Linked DNA regions of Homo sapiens: regions 2, 3 and 4 are each linked to region 1. The links are contacts of gene promoters, found by promoter capture Hi-C in blood cells and fetal thymus (Javierre and others, 2016). All regions are on one chromosome and are shown on one strand. The core of a region is centred on a gene start or on the middle of the fragment in contact, and the rest is flanking DNA. Distances in the headings are between cores, read along the strand shown. Region 1 holds the start of NKX2-8 (NK2 homeobox 8). Region 2 has its middle 69 kb from the start of BRMS1L. Region 3 overlaps LOC105370452 (a long non-coding RNA gene). Region 4 holds the start of LINC00609 (long intergenic non-protein coding RNA 609).

Region 1 (3,196 bases), core at 405-2,904:
CATTGAAAACCATGACAACACCGGACAAGCTCCGATTTATCCCGGCGCGTTAAAGCGCATTGTGAGCAGACGTCAATCATGCATTATTCCGGACTGAACAAATGCAAAATCTTGACTGGAACAAATGCTTCCAACAGGTCCGGGGCGTCGAGCTCCATTTCCCCTTTGTCCGCGGCCTAGCAGTTGGCCTGTATTGGGGTTGCCTCCGCCCGACCACCCAGCGCGCGGTGCAGCTCCGGGCACCTCGGGCACGCTTGATAGGGAGGCTGCTGGGGAGGGTGCGCGGGGCTTGACAGGGCCGCCGCCGCCGCATCCGAGCCAGGTTCGAGTTCAGCCCGGGAGGAGCCAGGACTTCTGGTGCAGCCACCCAAGTACAGAGCCCTTCGCTACAATTTAGCAACTAAATATCCAAACTACTAGCTTCAGTAGGAGAGGCCTCTGAGAGGGCGTTCCTCTGTAGATTGAAGCGCGGCCAGAGCTAGGCCATGGCCCAACAAAATGTATCCACGGCGGCCTGTTCCCTGCGCCTCCTACATTGATCATTTTCTAGGGTGGAACTGTGGAAACTAGAAGATCCCAGAGAAACCCATGGCCGGTGGTATTTTCTGCCGGGTAGGCCCTGTCCTAATTCTCCCGATCGGTCCATTCCCGGACCAAGGCGGGCAGCCTCGTCAGGGTCTGCCATGCTGCGAGCGGGGAGCGTAGGCCATGGGCAGGCTCCTGGGCAAAGACCAAAGCCCAGGCAGTGAGAGTGCCGTTGAGGCTATGGGGCCAAGGCGCACAGGCGGCACCAGTTCATCTGGCGACTCCAAGGAGGCCTCAAAGCCCTCACAGGATGCCCTGAGAAGCGCCCCCGCCCAGGGGCTCTAAAGCGGGCCTGGACCCAAATTTGTGGAGCTCGGCCTCCGAGCTCCGAGATCGGCAGCGGCCGGGCGAAGCTGGGCCAAAGAGACAGGCACTGTAGACCTAAGTAGCTTGGCTACAAGCCTCTTCTGTTTTGCCGGCCTGTGGAGACGTGGAGCTGGGGCTCCGAATGTTGTCCCAGCCCTTCCTCAGCACCTCTGAGGCTGTTAGGGGGATGTATGGTGTGATCCGAGGCTCCCAGCGGCCGTTGAAACCCCTGGGCCAATGCTGGCAGGGCCAGGCTAATCTTTACGCCCTCCTGAAACTTGTCATCCTGAATCTTAGAGGGGCCCAACCAAAAAGAGAAAGGGAGCGCGCCAGAGTTTAACGCCGCTTTGTAAATCACTTTCTGGATAATTGCGGGAAACTACCACTCCAGCAAACAAGCTCGAAGAATAAAGCAAACAGGGAATAAATTCCTGGGTGCTAATAAACCCACCCCTGCCACCCCCACCCTTCCCGGCGCTCCCGCGGGGCCTGGCCTCAAGTCAGCCCAGGAGGAGGAGGAGGAAGCTGGGGCTGGGTCAGGCGGGTGGTGGCCACCGCTCGCCACCCAAGATGTTATTCACTGGTAACAATCCCCATTATCTGTCCCCACTTTGGGCTAATCAGACAGAATCGCTAATGCCAAATGCTGCTTCCTGCAGCCTCTGGGAGGTAACTGGGCGCCAAGGGGCGGGGTGCGGGGCGGGGTGCGGGGCGGGGCGGGGGCGGAGGTGGCACCTTCCGGGCTCGCCCCGGCTCTGGTCCAGTGCTCATTCAGGTACTTAACACCCTGGAGACCCGGACCTCGGCTTTCAAAGCGGCCTGGGTGGGAAGAGCTGTTTATATAAACAGAGATTCCGCTGTAAATGCGCTAATATCCCGGCTGCCAGCGCATGGCGAGCGCCTCCCACGCCCATCCGTAGGAGCGGCGTCCCGGCCGCCCCTCCGTTCCCAGCCTGCCCTGCCCCCGCCTCCTTCCCCTCCTCGGCCATGGCCACCTCTGGACGCCTGAGCTTCACCGTGCGCAGCCTTCTAGATTTACCCGAGCAGGACGCGCAACACCTGCCGAGGCGGGAGCCAGAACCACGCGCCCCCCAGCCCGACCCCTGCGCCGCCTGGCTGGATTCGGAGCGCGGCCACTACCCTTGTAAGTGCGTGGTGGATTGCGGTGCGGGGTGGGAGGTAGGAGGCGTGGGGCAGCAGAATCAAGGGCCCAGCCCACGAGGGGCCGGAAAGCCGAAATCCCAGCCCAGAGTCTAGATTTCCTCAGTCTTGGAAACGGGAGCCCTGTCCTCGAACCCCTAACGCATTCATCCCGGTCGGCACATCCTAAGAGCAGATCCCTGCCTGGCACTGGTGCTCCGAGATTTGGGGTTTCTGTGTCTGACGATTTCTAGAGGTCGGAATAATTGAAATTTAAAACGCGCCGCCACCTGCCGCCCCCACCCCACCCCCCGCCCCCTCTCCATGCCTGAAAACACGGCCACGATCTCCAGGCCTCCGTCTGGGATGGCCAGTGTTGGCGAGTTTACCCCCACCCCGTTCCCACTCAGGGCTCCGCAAACCTCGGCACACTGCAGTGCAGTCGACCTGGAGGAGGCCGGCGCTGGTGACCCAGCTTGTGATAAACTGGTCGGCCAGCGCAACTACCGGTGCGGACATGTTAAGAGGGCCCCGGGGTGGGTTTTTTCGGGGCACGATCTCAGGCCCGCTGATGACCGCTGTGGTATGAATGAGGTCACCGCATTCGGAGAGGTGGATGTCCAGATGTGGACTCAGGAAATGGCCTCATCCCGAAAGTCTCGGGCTAGTGGGCGTGCCCTCTGGCCAGTGCCTCCACGCCCGCGCCAGAAGGGCAGCAGGCCCTCGTAGGGTCCGGCGTCTCACCCACCCGTGTCTCCTTTGCTGTCCCTAGCCTCGGACGAGAGCAGCCTGGAGACCAGCCCGCCAGACTCGTCGCAGCGGCCGTCCGCTAGGCCCGCGTCTCCGGGCTCGGACGCCGAGAAAAGGAAGAAGCGGCGGGTGCTATTCTCCAAGGCGCAGACGCTGGAGTTGGAGCGGCGCTTCCGGCAGCAGCGGTACCTGTCTGCGCCCGAGCGCGAGCAGCTGGCGAGCCTGCTTCGCCTCACGCCCACGCAGGTCAAGATCTGGTTCCAGAATCATCGCTACAAGCTGAAGCGCGCTCGCGCTCCAGGGGCGGCGGAGTCGCCTGACCTGGCAGCATCCGCCGAGCTGCACGCCGCGCCCGGCCTGCTGCGTCGCGTGGTGGTGCCGGTGCTTGTTCGCGACGGGCAGCCGTGCGGCGGCG
Region 2 (3,196 bases), core at 322-2,821, 690 kb after region 1:
TGAAAATACACAAACTTATAAAACTCACTATAAAGCAAACACACAAATGAGGAAGAGAAAAGACTCAAATGGTACCACCACAGGAGAACAGCAAACCACAAGGACAAACAATAAGAGAGAAAAAAAAAAGGAAGCAATCAGAAAATAATTAACAGTAAAGCAAATAAAACCTCATATATCAATAATTACTTCGAATGTAAATGGATTCAATTCTCCACTTAAAAGATGTAGACTGACTTAAGAAATTTTTAAAAAGTGAACCAACTATATGCTGCCTACAAGAAACACACTTTACCTGTAAAGACAGATACAGACTGAAAGTAAAAGGTTGGAAAAAGATATTCCACACAAACAGAAATCAAAAGTGAGCAGGAGCAGTTATACTTATATCAGATAAAACAGACTTTAAGTCAAAAGCAGTTTTTAAAAAAAGACAAAGACAGTCATTATGTAATGAGAAAGGGATAAATCCAGCAAGAGGATACAATAATTTTAAATACATATGCACCCAACACTGGAGCACCCAGATTCATAAGTCAAATATTACTAGATCTAAAGAAAGAGCTAGACTCTGATACAATAATAGTGGGAGACTTCAACTCCCCACTCCCAGAGAAGCATTAGACTTAAACTGGACTTTAGACCAAATGGACCTAATAGACATTTACAGAACATTTTATCCAACAACTGCAGAATAAACATTCTTCTCATCAGGACATGGTACATTCACCAGGATTGACTATACGTTAGGCCAGAAAGCATGTCTCAACAAATTTTCAAAAATCAAAATTATATCAAATATCTTCTCAGACCACAATGGAATAAAACTATATAAATCAATACCAGAAGGAACTTGGAAACTATACAAATACATGGAAATTAAACAACATGCTCTTGAATGACCATTAAGATGAAAATCAAAAATTTCTTGAAACAATTGAAAATAGAAACATAACATGCAAAACCTGTGGGACACAGCAAAAGCAATGCTAAGAGAGAAGTGTATAGCAATAAATGCCTACATCAACAAAAATAAAGATTTTAAATAAACAATCTAATGATACACTCCAAGAAACTGGAAGAGCAAGAACAAACCCAAAATTCACAGAAGAAAAAAACACAAAGATCAGAGAAGTGGTGAAATAGAGCAAATATTTCAAAGAGCAAATATATATATATGCTCTTTGAAAAGATAAAGTTTATAAACCACTAGACTAACCAAGAAGAGAGAAGACCCAAATAAACAAAGTCAGAAATGAAAAAGGATACATTACAACTGATACCACAGAAATACAAAAGATCATCAGAGATCATTATGAACAACTAACTATATGATAACCAACTGGAATATGTAGAGGAAATGAATAAATTCCTGGAAACAAAACCCACCAAGATTGAATCAGGATGAAATAAAAAACCTGAACAGACCAATAACAGGTAGCAAGATTGAATCAGTAAGAAAAAGCCTCTCAACAAAGAAAAGTCCAGGACCAGATGGAATAACAGCTGAATTTTACCAAATGCAAAAAGAAAAATTAATAACAATCCTCCTCAAACTATTCCAAAAACTTGAAAAGGAGGGAATCATCTCTTACTCATTCTGTAAGGCCAGTATTACTCTGATGCCAAAACCAGACAAGGACACAACAAAAAAAGAAAAGTACAGGCCAATATCCCTGATTAACACAGATGCAAAAACCCTCAACAAAATACTAGCAAACTAAGTGCAACAGCACATCAAAAAGATAATACACCATGATCAATTTAAATTTATACTAGGAATGCAAGGATGGTTCAGCACATGCAAATCAATAAACATGATACACCACATCAACAAAATGAAGGGCAAAACCATATGTTAATCTCAATAGATGCAGAAAAAAGATTTGACAAAATTCAACACTGCTTCAGGATTAAAAATGCTCAACAAATTAGGCATAGAAGAATCATACCTCAAAATAATAAAGGCAATATTAGAACAAACCTACAGCTATCATCATACTGAATGGTGAAAACCTTTCCTCTATTAATTGGAACAAGTCAAGAATGCCCACTTTCACCGCTTCTATTCAACATAGTACTGGAAGTCCTAGCCAGAGCAATCAGACAAGAACAAGAAATAAAAGGCATCTAATTTGGAAAAGAGAAAGCCAAATGATCCTTCTTTGCAGACGACATAATTTTATATCTAGAAAAAACAAAAGGTGCCACCAAAAAACTCCTAGAACTGATAAATTCAGTAAAATTACAGGATACAAAAACACAAAAATTGGTAGCACTTCTATACTCCAATAATGAAATAGGCAAAAAAGAAATCCAGAAGGCAGTTCCCATTACCAAAAAAAAATACCTAGAAATAAATTTAACCAAGGAGGTGAAAGATCTCTACAAGGAAAACTACAAAACACTATGAAAGAAATCGAAGAGGATACGAATAAATGGAAAGACATTTTGTGCCCATGGATTGGAAGAATTCATATCATTAAAATGACCATACTGCCCAAAGTAATCTACAGATTTGATACAATCCTTATCAAAAATACTAATATCATTTTTCACAGAAATAGAAAAAAAAATTCCAAAATTTGTATGGAACCAAGAAAGAACACAAATAGCCAAAGCATTACTAAGCAAAAAGAACCAAGCTGGAGGTATCACACTACCTGACTTCAAAACAGACTACAAGTAACCAAAACAGCATGATGTTGGAATGAAAATAGACAAATAGACCAATCTAATAGAATAGAGAACCCAGAAATAAATCCACATATTTATAGCCAACTGATCTTCAACAAAGCCACCAAGAACATACATTGGAGAAATGACACCCTTTTCAATAAATGGTGCTGAGGCAAGTGGATAACCATACTGAGAAGAATGAAACTGGCTATCAGATACATAACCTGAAGTAAAAAAAAAAAAAAAAAAAAAAAAAAAGAATGAAACTGTACCCCTATCTTTCACCATGTACAAAAGTCTACTCAAAATGGATTAAATACTTAAACGTAAGACCCGAAACTATAAAACCACTAGAATAAAACAGGGAAAACTCCTCAGGATACTTACTGGTCTAGGCAAAGATTTTTATGGCTAAGACCTCAAAAGCACAGGCAATAAAAACAAAAATAGGCTGGGCATGGTGGCTCACACCTGTAATCCCAGCACTTTGGGAGGCCGACGTGGGCAGATTGCTTGA
Region 3 (3,196 bases), core at 216-2,715, 530 kb after region 1:
TAACTAGAGAATCTTGTAACAGACCCTCTCAGCTCCAAAGGCAATTTGCCCTCTCTGGACAATTGTAACACTGAATCAGGAATGGCTGAGCTGAGGACAGATTCTAGACTGTATTTCTGAATTCCATATTTCTTCCAAGGGGAGAAAAGTGAGATCTTTTCTGCTATTTCATCATCACATTACAATTTGGAGAGGAAAATTCTACCTTCATAAATGCTAGAGAATGAAAGATAAACAATGGAATGTGTAATGCTAAAGGCTTATAAAGTTTAAGCCTACCATGATTTAAAATGAGGTATCTGAGAGGAAAGGGGTGGTTAGTGCAGCCTCCAGTGTGGGGGATTTAAGGTGCCATGAGAGATGACAGAAGCCATGGTCGTGGTGGGCGCTTTGGTTCCAGAAGAGGCCCAAGAGGAGGGTTCAGGCTCTTTGTGCCACATATCCCATTTGATTTCCATCTGTGTGAAATGGCCTTCCCAGGGGTCAAGCCAGCACCTGATGAAATGTCCTTCAGTGAGGCCTTGCTGAAGAGAGATCAGTACCTGGCTCCCAACTCTGCTGAACAGGACTCTGTCCTTTCTCTGGTGACAAAAATAAACAACGTGACTGATAATTTGATTGTGGCTCTAATTTGAAGTGCAAATTCAAGAAGTCTGACAGGTGGGATCGTACTAAAAGAGAAAGATGGCTACAGGCCACAGTGCAGCTGCCCTGGTGATAATACTAAAGACTCTGCCAACACTGGAAGCTGTTACTGCCCTGGGGAACAAAGCTTTGGAAAGCCTCAGAGCACAAGATTCTTCTGAAGTTTTGACCGTGCTGACCAACAAAACTGGCTTGAAATCAGTTCTTCTGATGCTCCAGTGAAGATTCTCATTACAATAGTGTCACTCAATCTTGGAAAACTGGACCCCAAAGTCTATTTGGATAGCAAGGTATTGCAGAATGCCTTGGCAGTCATCTGCCCTGCCTGCTGGATTGAGAGAAGTGCCTCTCAGTCCATAAAGTTCTCATCAGACTACTCAAGGACTTGAGGATTTGTCTTCCTGGCTTTGAGCCACTCACATTCTGGATCCTTGACCTACTGGGTCATTCTGCTGTGATGAACAACCTCACCAGACAGCCTTTGGCCCTAAATGTTGCATATGAGCATTGCTTGCAAATTCTGGCTGCAGGACAGTTCCCACCAGGGTCACTGGGTGTCACTGACCCCTGTGAGAGTACACACAGTCATGACCATGCAACTGCAGGACATGGTCTGCCACACAGCTCTGACTCTGGTCTGAATCCTCTGGTGGCTTTAGGAAGATCCTTGGCCAGGAGGACGATGCCAGCCATCTTGCTTCCAAAATATCTACCTGGGATGGAGTGATAGTAACACCTTCAGAAAAGGCTTAAGAGAAGCTGCCAGAGAAACAGGGAGGAGAGGAAGAAAAGGAGAAGACAGAAGAACCACCTCAAGGAGAGAAAGAGGAAAGCATGGAAACTCAGGAGTGACCTTCCCTTCACTCCCTTTCCTACCCAAGGGGGAAGACTGGAGCCTAAGCTAGCTGCCAGTGGGCTTTACATGGTGGCAGGGATTTCCGTGGGACAGGAAGACAACAGGAAGGAAAATAAACTCTGTAGAAGGAAATGCCAGTCCAGTGGGTTTTGATATTGGCTTAGCAGCCAGAGTCTCCCATTTATGACCTATGCCATCCATCTATAATGAAGCGGGATACCAACATTTCTTCCTCATACTCTAGAATCCCCAACTCCTGAAAACCCTTCTCTCAACTAATAACTTTGCTGTTGAAATGTTGTGAGCTGTTAGTGTCTGGAAAACTTTTTCTAAGAAAAACAATGAAAATACTTCCTAATAGGGCATAAATAAATAAACATAAAAGGAGATACCTGAGAGCAAACACTGCTTTGAAGATCTACAAATTTCTGCTTTTTCCTTAGAGATTTAACTCCCAATAAAGCTGTTGTTTATAGATTTTCCTTTCATTAATTTGGATGAAATGAGCCCGAAGACTAAGGGACTCGGTAGAGAAAGAGAGCAATGACTATTGATGACTTTTTGTGGACTTTGCAAATTAACAAAGCCATCTGGTGACAGAGAACCCCACTGGCTGACACTCAGGCCATGTCAACTCCTATCTTTAACCAAGCTTTCACAACTTAAGAGGTCTTCCAGCCTAACCTCACTGCCCGACCTGGACTTCAAAAAGTATAGCTATGTAATTTGTTTATTGCATTCTATTTCATATTCTATTTTTATCCCCAAATAGACCTGCCTGAGAACAGAAACTGTTCTTCCTACTTCTTTTGCCTACAAAAAAAGGCATAAAATTAATACATGTTGAGACCTTTTGTACTTTCCTCATCAGAATATACAGTGTTTTAAGAACAGACTGCAAATTTTATCAGTGGAGTGTTACATATCAAGGAGGCCCTCTTTTCTCTCACCTAAGATAGGGCTACATTAAAACAAGCACTTGATAAATGCCTTTTAATGACAGTATAATAAAAAATCATTATAACATTTAATAGCTGCTTGTCACGTGTACAAATATATACAGCAGTTTTAAAACAGTAGGTACAAAATAGAAAAGTTCCCATATCTTACCAAGTTGATAGCTAGCTTTTAAATAACTGCAGCACACTGGTAGACATTATGTAAGTGAATCTGTACTTCCAAATAGGCATGTTTTACACTTCTGAATATGTGAATAAAGGAATTGTTCTAAGGTATTCACTACACACACATGTGGACGCGCACACACACACACACACACACACACACACAATTTTCATCATTGGCAACTTTTTCCTGGATTCCTCAGGCTTGAGTCAAGTGTGTTCACCGCTCTGCCTTTCACCAGTGCCATCTTTTCATACACCCATAACTATCTGGCACAGGGTGAAATCATGATTTAGCAAAAGGGCAAGTAGGAGGCAAAATGGAGTGCTATCTTCCCTAATTGCTATTTAAAGGAAACAATAAAAAGGATGAAACAAATTAAATTAGCAAAGAAGCAAGAGCATCCCAATGAACTGGCCAAGATAATCAACTTGGAAAATTAGCTATTAAACCTTCATGCATACTCATTTTCATAATTTTTTGTGTGTGCTTCTGAAACGCAACGCCCCATTGAAATGGCTGGGATGAAGTTGCTTCATTTCTCTGAGATAAGTCATTTGCAATTGGTCT
Region 4 (3,196 bases), core at 213-2,712, 510 kb after region 1:
ATCAGAAGCTAGGGGCTGGTTTAAATCTTGATCTGCCACTTACTAGCTATGTTTCTTACCTCTCTGAACCTTGGTTTCCTCATCTGTAAAAGGGGCTCATCATAGTTGTGAGGAGAATTAAGTGAACTAATATTTGTGCCTGGTATGCAGTAACCACTATGTATGTTTTTGAAATAAATAAATGTTGTTGGAGTGAAACCCCCCAACACATCTCTAATGCCGCCTTGTGACTAGTGGATTAAGTGAGCACTTTGAAAATATGTATTACTTGAGTGATTAAATTGCCAAGCTTCCCCATTTCATTTACATCTTATTTCCATTTCTAGTGAATCATTCCTTCTAAGCACAAGGTTGTGAAAGGAAATCTTGAACACTAATAATAGCATTACAAGCTACTATAACCAGGGCTTACTTACATGATTATCACCAAAGCTCCAATAAATTTCTCAATTTAAATATTAAAAATCAGTCAATGATCTGTTAGCTGGAAAATATCTGGGGTGAAAGAGTGATTACCACTAAAAAATAGATTGAAGTCATTGCTGCTTTTAGAGCCTAGAAAAATACAAAGATCTGTTATTCTAGGTAAGTTACTTACTCTCTCTGCCTCCTTTATGGGCTGCTGGAAGGATTAAATGATTAGTGTGTGAGAAATGCTTAGAACAATGCCTGGCTCAAAGTAAGTAATCAATAAATGCCAGTTCTTATTATCACAGGTATTCTGAATACAGGTTGTGGCGATCAGGAGCTTTGATGACCATGGCAGGTGGCAATGCCCCAAAGTGCAGAAGACGTCAATTCCTCTTCCATATCCCCAGTCAACACACACATTCCCCTCCACAACCAAGAGAAGTGGGCATTAAAGAAAGGAAGGGCAAGAGGAACGACAATTCTAAAAGATCACCAAGGTGTATAGTCTGAATTATTTGGACTAGTTCTGCTGTGATCTTAGCCAATTGACCCTCTGCCCTAATTTCCCCACCTGAAAAAAAAGAAGGCCAATTTATTAAGGGTTTCTGATGCGTGGGTGAAAGAGGCTGTTAACACTCGAAAGTATTATAGATTAACAATCTTTCTAACCATTTTAAATATTAGCAAATGTTCCAGCTCACAAAGTGCCATGGTTTTAGTGGCCTGGAAAACGCTGCAATTTGTTCAAACATCAGTGGGTGTTATTTCTGGATGTTAATCAGTACCATTTACCTTGAGAACCTGGAAAATGTGTGGACTGTGCAAGTCCGCCATCTGCTGGTCCTGGAGACTCTGCGCCGCAGGGCAGAGATGCTTGTCCAATGCGGCCGGCACAGGAGCTCCTTGGAGAGCAGCAAACCAGCCAAAGCTGTTCCCACCACCTCAGGTCCTGATGCTGAATTATCACAGTGAACATGTTGCTTTCCCAAAGGGAGGTGATTTGTTTGAGAGGGTATGTGTGTGGTCTTTAAATAGTTTTGTTCTTTGTGCTTACATTATCATCTAGGAAGAAAAGATAATTTATTGCATCTCAGAAATGAAGCGACTCTGAGATAGCATCTATTTCAAATGCCTCATTTTACACAAAAGAAAAAATGTGGCCCAAGAGTCAGACAACTTTCCCAAGTTACTCAGCCAGTAGTGGCAGGACAGTATCCCCAAGGCTCATGCCTGGACACTTACTCTCGCTACCTTGGAGAAGGTGAAGGAGGGCAGAGGAATCTGCCAAAACAAAGAAAACTTCCCAGCCAGTGTCCTGGGTCACTGTATACGTCTTACTGACATGGCACTTTAGCCATAGTTTGCAAAGAGCTTTAACTTCTCTTCTTATATCCATATAAAAACTTTCACCTCTGATTGTAGCCAAAAGCCAAAGCCCTTTTATGCCCTATTGCACTTATGAAAGGGGAAAAATGCAAGTAAGGATACTTTATCTTGTGATTATTTTCACTTCCTGAAAAGCCAAAGATCTAGCAGTTTAATCACAAAGTCTGTCCTGTCATTCAGCAGCAGATGCCAGCCTCTTGCCCGGCAGCCACCAGAATAGAAGAACCCTACAGGTCAGAAAGTCTACACTCTTATTTCTCCACCAGAGAGAGGTCTCTCTTAGTTTATACAGGCCAACTATTTTTTTTTAATTGGTCTTAGTCCAATAATGACATATTTGCCTGGGTCACCTGCCAGCCAACCAGGAGCGCTCATTCAGCTGGGGTGTGGATACAGAGAAATTCTAGTGCCATCCAACAGAGGGCAGTAGTGCACAGACACATAACCACCCTGCTCAGCTCTCTCCTATCAGAAAAAAGGGGGTGGGGGACACAGGTGCATATTCTTACTGCTCTGACTCTGTCCTGAGAGTGGAGCCAAACATTTTTCAGATGCCAAAATCAATCTTAAAAGTCAATGATCTGACAAGGACAAATATTAATCGCTAATTCCTGTTTCCCCCCACTTCATGACGCTCAGCTTCATACTCTGCCCCTGAGCCTCCCAAACCAAAGTTCTTTTATCACGTGACAGAGACACAAGCCTTGGATCCATCTGAAAACAAAGCTGACAAGTTTCTCACCACCTAGCAACACAAAAAACTCTAAACACAATCCAAAGAATCCCCAAGGGAAACAGCTTCAAGAATCTTGAAAATCATACCTATTTTTGTTTGTAATGTGTGAAATTATTACAAGTATGTTCACCAAGAGGACTATTGATGGATGACTCACAATTTAGCTAAATTCAATGAACCACACACTGTGCCTATCCCAGTAGGTGACTCATGCATTTTTTATTTCAAGTATCAAGTGTTTGCCAAAAACAGTATTTAAAAAAAGTAATGAAAATTGTTCTGAAAGAGCTCATGAATAGGGTAGGACTACCCACCGACAACCTCATTTGTGCTCTGACCACTTACATGGGATTTGGTGGGTCTGCTACAGCAGCGCTCGACAGAGAGTGCGCTCCCCACAGCAACGGTGGCAGGCGGAGGGCAGGCTCTGCAACTCACCACACGTGGTTATCTCCCTCAAACCCACATCTCAGCAAGGATTCTAAAGCCCAATGATGTGTATGTGTTGCGGGGGGGGGGCAGGTACATACAGGTTTTGCTAAAACATATTAAAAATAAATGCATACATCCATTCAATTCCTGTTTGTCTTCTATTGAGCTTATCATTTCTCCCCCTACCTTTTTTAATTTAAGAAATCTAATTATCAGAGAAAAATGGAGGGA

What was found. Contacts are between HindIII fragments. The CHiCAGO score rates a contact against its expected background, and 5 or more counts as called.
Region 2: a fragment that was not itself captured here is called in contact with the fragment with the promoter of NKX2-8 in region 1 in 1 of 17 cell types (M1 macrophages); the score reaches 5.6 in M1 macrophages.
Region 3: a contact is called between a fragment that was not itself captured here and the fragment with the promoter of NKX2-8 in region 1, in 1 of 17 cell types (M1 macrophages). The highest score is 6.5, in M1 macrophages.
Region 4: the fragment with the promoter of LINC00609 here is called in contact with the fragment with the promoter of NKX2-8 in region 1 in 2 of 17 cell types (M0 macrophages and megakaryocytes); the score reaches 6.4 in M0 macrophages.

What each region holds. Positions count from the first base shown.
Region 1 is chr14:36,581,072-36,584,267 of GRCh38, reverse strand. It overlaps NKX2-8 (NK2 homeobox 8), which reads left to right and starts at 1,654. Exons shown (of 2, transcript NM_014360.4): 1 at 1,654-2,035; 2 at 2,804-3,196. The coding sequence starts at 1,879. RefSeq lists enhancers at 2,263-3,073, 3,074-3,196. The HindIII fragment of the contact is 11,395 bases long and covers 1-3,196 here.
Region 2 is chr14:35,893,277-35,896,472 of GRCh38, reverse strand. No RefSeq gene overlaps it. Among named protein-coding and RNA genes, the nearest start is that of BRMS1L, 69 kb to the right of the region's middle. The HindIII fragment of the contact is 3,843 bases long and covers 1-3,196 here.
Region 3 is chr14:36,052,495-36,055,690 of GRCh38, reverse strand. The region is part of intron 1 of LOC105370452 (a long non-coding RNA gene); the gene reads left to right. It also overlaps the pseudogene ILF2P2. Among named protein-coding and RNA genes, the nearest start is that of LINC00609, 16 kb to the left of the region's middle. The HindIII fragment of the contact is 1,381 bases long and covers 775-2,155 here.
Region 4 is chr14:36,068,693-36,071,888 of GRCh38, reverse strand. It overlaps LINC00609 (long intergenic non-protein coding RNA 609), which reads right to left and starts at 1,462. Exons shown (of 3, transcript NR_073454.1): 1 at 1,204-1,462. The HindIII fragment of the contact is 3,305 bases long and covers 292-3,196 here.